2 separate regions of the Homo sapiens genome follow, and region 1 is linked to region 2. Evidence: promoter capture Hi-C in human tissues and cell types (Jung and others, 2019). All regions are on one chromosome and are shown on one strand. The core of a region is centred on a gene start or on the middle of the fragment in contact, and the rest is flanking DNA. Distances in the headings are between cores, read along the strand shown.

Region 1 (2,947 bases), core at 129-2,628, 180 kb after region 2:
TGGCTTAAAAATGAGAGAAACTTATTTCTCACAGTTCTGGAGGCAGCTTCACTGTCTGATAAGGACCCGCTTTCTGGATCATACACAGCTTCTCGATATATCCTCACATGGCAGAAGGGACAAAGCAATGCCCCAGGGCCTCATTTATAAGGACAATAATCCCCTTCGCCAGGGCTCCACCCTCATGACCTAATCCACTCTCGAAAACCCCACCTCCTAATACTGGGTCATTGGTGATTAGGTCTCAACATACAAATATGGGGGGACAAAAACTTTCAGACCATAGCAGCATCCTTATCATGAGAGTCTATCCCTCATTCACTAGGCCACAAGCCCTAATTCAACACAGATGTGAGAGGTCCCTTTGGACTCGGCAAGTAATGAATTGCAGAAGTGGAAGGTCTGTCTTTAAAGAAAAGAACTCCTAAGAAAAAAAAACTGAATAAAGAATCCTATAGCAAAAGACAAGTACATTGTTTATGATTATCCTAAAATCTAAAATTTTACAAATTTAAATTTTTACTTTGATATGCATATGTTGTGTGTAAAAGCTAGTGGAAGGTCTGGAAAATACTGTATATATACTGAACTGTTATAGTAGTTATCTCTTGGGGATTAGCAAGGGGTTTGAAGAATACCTTTATTAAAATGTTTAACAAACAGCATATATGACTCTGATAATCAGAAAAAAAAATAAATGTTATTCTCCCAAACAAATGGCTTTGCAAATGGGTCACAGCAGGAAGGAACCACCTAGAAAAACAACCACGTAGAAAAACAAAGCCAAAGCTTTATTTCTTTAGGCTTTGTAAGAGTGCCATCTTCTGGAGTCTCAAGAAATGAACTTTAAAATAAACTAACCTGGCTGGGCGCGGTGGCTCATGCCTGTAATCCCAGCACTTTGGGAGGCCAAGGCAGGTGGGTCACTTGAGGTCAGGAGTTCGAGACCAGCCTGGCTAACATGGCGAAACCCTATCTCTACTAAAAATACAAAAATTAGCCAGGAGTGGTGGCGTGCGCCTGTAGTCCCAGCTACTAGGGAGGCTGAGGCAGGAGAATAGCTTGAACCCAGGAGGCGGAGGTTGCAGTGAGCCAAGATCACACCACTGCACTCCAGCCTGGGCAACAGAGCAAGATTCCGTCTCAAAAAATAAAATAAAATAAAATAAAAATAAGCTAAGCCTGTGTGTTCAAGCCACTTGAGATGTATTGATACTAGAAGGTTTATCTTTTAAAACAAGAAAGAAGAAAAAAAGCAAACCTTTTACAACGATCAACTTAGCAAATTAAAATTGTCTTATTTAACTAATAATTAGTTTCCAAAAAGTTCACCAGTAAGGAGGCAGTTCTACAAGGCATAAAGTGAAAAAGAAAGTTAGCAATTATTTAGAGTTAAGAAAACCAGCCAATCAATAACTACTCAGGCTTTAAAAACATACTCAAATATCAAATGAAAATGAAATTCTTAATCATATAGCTGAGTAAATGATTTTTTTATGGGGTAGTAAATGTTTCTTAAATCTTGGAACTGAATCCAAGATTGTGCTGAGCTAAAGAAACCAGACACAAAAGAATACATACTGTATGATTCCATTTATATGAAACTTTCAGAAAGATAAAATCTCATCTATAGTGACAGAAATAAGCTCAGTGGTCACCTGAGCTGAAAGGTGTGGGAGGAGTGAGAATTAACTGGTTAACCTGGAAGGGGCACCTGAGAACCTTTGGGACCGATGGAAGTGTTCCGTATCTTGACTGTGGTGATGGGTCCATTTAGCAAGGCTCTTCAAACTGCACATTTAAAACGAATATATTTCATTGTAAGTAAATATTAACTCAATAGTCAATTTTAAAATAATAATTGAATATTCTTTCTTCAGATGATACTGTCCACAGGCGCAGAGAGGCCATGTAGGATCGTCAAAGGTGTCCTAGGGCAAGCTGGCTCTTAATCACTGATCAGTAAATATTCAGGAATTTTCCAAGCTGGCTATTAAACCATGGGCAGCTTGAAATTGGCCATGATGGGAGTATTTACACAAATGGAACTTGGGCTTTTAAAATGTATTTCCCAGAAAACTGTTTTACACCAGTACACCACTGAGCATAGAGGTTAAAAGCACAGTTCAAAGGCCTGAGTTTGGGTCCCAGCTCTGGCACTTTCTAATGGTTTTACTTACCTCTCTGTTCCATAGTTCTCTGTTCCCTAAAATCAAGGCAAAAAAGGATACCTGCTTCACGCCCTATTATGAGAATTCTATGGGTCAATTCACACTTGGCATATAGTAAGCACTAAATATTACCTGCTATTATTATGCAAAGAAAAAAAGTCTCTCTACAACTAAAGAAATGAACTGGTTTACATATTTCCCCCAGACATATTTATTCTTTTTCTTCCCTTCATGCACAATCCTAAATTATTCCACTTTTGTAAAAAAAAAAAGTGCACTTTTCTCACCCAACATATGGGGAGGGGGGAATAATATTTATCTTCCCTCTATCACAAGTTGTGAGCATCAAATAAGCCAACTTCTGTGAAGGAGCTTAACAAGCCATAAAGCACTTTGAAACTATAAGATGTGCTTTCTTCAGAGATGGGGTCGCTCTCTGTCACCCAGGCTGTAGTGCAATGGTGTGCTCATAGCTCACTGCAGCCTCAAATTCCTGGGCTCAAGTGATCCTCCCACCTCAGACTACTGCCATTTTAGTCAAATGTCAGATGCCTGATGAAAGGTGCAAACCACGGTGCCTGTCTAAAATGCTAATATTAATGTAGCTGCTCAAATTGAAGGGGAGGATTCTACAACTAAATACAGAGTATATAAAATAAATTAAGAAAAACTGGGGCTGGGAGCAGTGGCTCACGCCTATAATCCCAGAACTTTGGGAGGCCGAAGCGGGCAGATCATGAGGTCAGGAGATTGAGACCATCCTGGCTAACACAGAG
Region 2 (3,292 bases), core at 639-3,138:
TAAAATCACTACTCCATAGTGCCATCTCTCTACCATCTAATATTTCTATTCTTGTGCTATTACAAAATACCTTTTTTTTTTAGAAAAAAAGACAAAGACAAAGAGCCTTACTAACATTAATTGATTCTGAAAAGCAGCATGGTATAAAATAAAAAGAACTGGTCTAGGAACAAGTGATAGGAATTTTATACCCAGCTCTTCTGGTTGTGTACTGTGTGAATGGAACAAGCCACTTAACCTCTTCAAGACTCAAGAGTATTCTAACATCAGCCGATGTTAAGTGAAAATGAAAAGTGCTCCATAGCACATCACCAATGTTCCCATTTAGAACTTTGAGACTAAATGGTTCTATACTCAACTCTTTTCCTTGATTAATCCCTCCTATTGCTACTACACTGATTTTTATACTAGAGCAAGATACAAAACAAATAGATGGGATCTTGCTTTCTGTATAAGCCTTTAGTGCTCTGGGCATAGTAGAAGTTAATAAATATGTGCTATTTATAATAAGAATGATGTCAGTTTCTACACCTATAAAATTAAGTGGTGGAACAAGATAATTTACTACATTTTTGATCTCCAACATTCATTGATTACATATAACCATTTTCAACTTCATACCTACAGTCATGGTTACCATATGACGTGAACATCTTTACTGAAGCTGGCATGAATCACATTGTGATATAACCCCATTCCTGTACAAACAAATGCCACCACCTCATAAAAAGCTAACTATGTGTTTCTATTCATGATTGGAAGGGAGAAATAAACCTACCCCAAGTAGAAATAATATGTTTTTGACCAGCCTTTTTTCATTTATCTCACGTAACCCTAAACTCCCAGTGAAAATTACATTCTTTCTTCTGGCAATGACCAGGAATTGTTTTAACTTTTATTTTGCTGAAATTTTTCTTAATCTCTTTGCATTTATTATACTACACCTCTTGAACTATATTTGGTCACCCATTTTCTAACCTGCCTTATAAAGCAGATAAAAGTATTTTCTAACTCTTGCTTTTTCTTTGATTTATTCCCTTTCCTAAATTCAGTTGTCATGCTCTTTGGTCTAATATCTTTTCACAGGACACATGGTTTAGTAACTTGAAATGACATAAATTAAAATTAAATTCTGCCTTTGAAAAATTATATGCCAGATAATCCATATACAAGTGATTTTTGTCTTTCATAGAGAAGTGTAAATTTTGTTAAAATATTTTGCAATTTTTTCCAATTACTGAATATGAATTTTAGCCTCTTTTTTAAGAGACATTGAAATTGAACAGGTTTTGTTTTATATATCCTCCTGAGTGATCAATGTTTCCTAAAATATGAATGTGAAGTTCAGGAGATATCACAGAAATTGGAAAGATTCCATTTCAGGGAAAAATCTATGAATTTCTATGAATATAGAGTTTATCAGAGTTTCTATCTGGCTAATAAGATTATATCGAGAGAGGATAATCTTATTAGTCTAAAAAATACAAAGCAGTCTTACATAAGGGCAATCATGATTAATAATTCTTTTCTGGAGACCTGAGGTTTGGTGAATATGATCTCCAAAATCACATCACCTTATGGGTGAGAGTCACTTTGTCAGGTGATATACCCACAAGTGCAAACCTGAAGCTGAAGCTCAAGTGGAAATTATACCATTGTTTGTAAACAAAATGTTAACATTTTTACCAAGGACAAACACATTTGGTGAGTATTAGCTGAGCAATAAGGAAAAATCAATTTTGAGATATATTTAAAACAATTCAGCATTTGAACCATCAGAGGGCCCTAGAAAGGCTGGTTTAAAGAGTAACAAGATAAAAATGTTGCTCGCCACAAATAGAGGAATTGGCCCAGACTTATAAAAAGCCGGCAGTGGAATAGGCAGCCATAATTCAGAAACTCCTCCAAGCAACCCAACCTTCAGATCAACTCCTGACACCATGGCCTGCTGTCAGACCAGCTTCTGTGGATTTCCCAGCTGCTCCACCAGTGGGACCTGCGGCTCCAGCTGCTGCCAGCCAAGCTGCTGTGAGACCAGCTCCTGCCAGCCACGCTGCTGTGAGACCAGCTGCTGCCAGCCAAGCTGCTGCCAGACCAGCTTCTGTGGATTTCCTAGCTTCTCAACCGGTGGGACTTGTGACTCTAGCTGCTGCCAGCCAAGCTGCTGTGAAACTAGCTGCTGCCAGCCAAGCTGCTACCAGACCAGCTCCTGCGGAACTGGCTGTGGCATTGGTGGTGGCATTGGCTATGGCCAGGAGGGCAGCAGTGGAGCTGTGAGCACCCGTATCAGGTGGTGCCGCCCAGACTGCCGTGTGGAGGGTACCTGCCTGCCCCCCTGCTGCGTGGTGAGCTGCACACCCCCATCCTGCTGCCAGCTGCACCACGCCGAGGCCTCCTGCTGCCGCCCATCCTACTGTGGACAGTCCTGTTGCCGCCCAGTCTGCTGCTGCTACTGCTCTGAGCCCACTTGTTGAAAACCTCCTTCTGCTGGGGATCCTGATAAGATGGCACCTTAAAACTAGCCAAATTAGAATCCTAACAATCTTCTGAACTCCAGTACCTATAACTGGGCTTGCAACCTCTCATCACACAGCCACATAAATTCCCTAGGAAGTAAATTCATTTACAATGGAAGACCAAAAATTTTTCCTAGACCTGGTTGTCAGCCAAAGTCCTACAATGTGAAAAGAGTTAGATACTATTTTACTATAAATATCACCTGAAATATTTCAACAGTTATTGGGACTTAAATTTAATAAAAGTTTTCATCTCTTCAATGATGAAGTTGTTGTTTGAACTTTCTTTGCTTTGGAATTTATTAACAATATTGGGGTACTGGGATTTTTCAAAATATCAACATGACATGACACTATGGTTTTTCTGTACTTTTGCTCTTTTAATGATGATATTTAACAGCAATTTTCCTTTGTTTTACCATTAAATGGTCCAATATTTTGCAGCCAAGACATATGATTAAAGGAACTTGACAACATTTAGGAACTGTTTCCTAAGGTCCTCTCATGTGCAAAGTGGTGGGCTAGGTATTCCAACAGATTGATTCAGCTTCTTGAGGTTTTGCCAAATCTATTCATTCATCCATTCATATATGAGGTTGTATACAATTATTTCTGTCCTCCAAGATATACAAAAGCATAATAAAAATTGTGAAAGAATACAAACACAAGATTACAGAGTAATAGCATGTAACGAATATACACATTTCATTCAAGGTCTAGGCTCATAACTCCCATAGCCCTTTTATTGATGTTAGGGCACTTTACACTTCAGAAGC

Evidence for each region. The method cuts DNA at HindIII sites, captures the fragments that hold promoters and counts their contacts. A contact is called where the count stands out against the background at its distance.
Region 1: a contact is called between a fragment that was not itself captured here and the fragment with the promoter of KRTAP1-1 in region 2, in 2 of the 25 tissues and cell types used here (bladder and spleen).

The regions. Positions count from the first base shown.
Region 1 is chr17:40,855,041-40,857,987 of GRCh38, reverse strand. All of the region lies in intron 1 of LOC105371777 (a long non-coding RNA gene), which reads right to left. Among named protein-coding and RNA genes, the nearest start is that of KRT12, 11 kb to the left of the region's middle. RefSeq lists an enhancer at 697-991. The HindIII fragment of the contact is 6,754 bases long and covers 1-2,947 here.
Region 2 is chr17:41,040,046-41,043,337 of GRCh38, reverse strand. It overlaps KRTAP1-1 (keratin associated protein 1-1), which reads left to right and starts at 1,888. Exons shown (of 1, transcript NM_030967.3): 1 at 1,888-2,797. The coding sequence starts at 1,941. The coding sequence ends at 2,474. The HindIII fragment of the contact is 12,161 bases long and covers 1-3,292 here.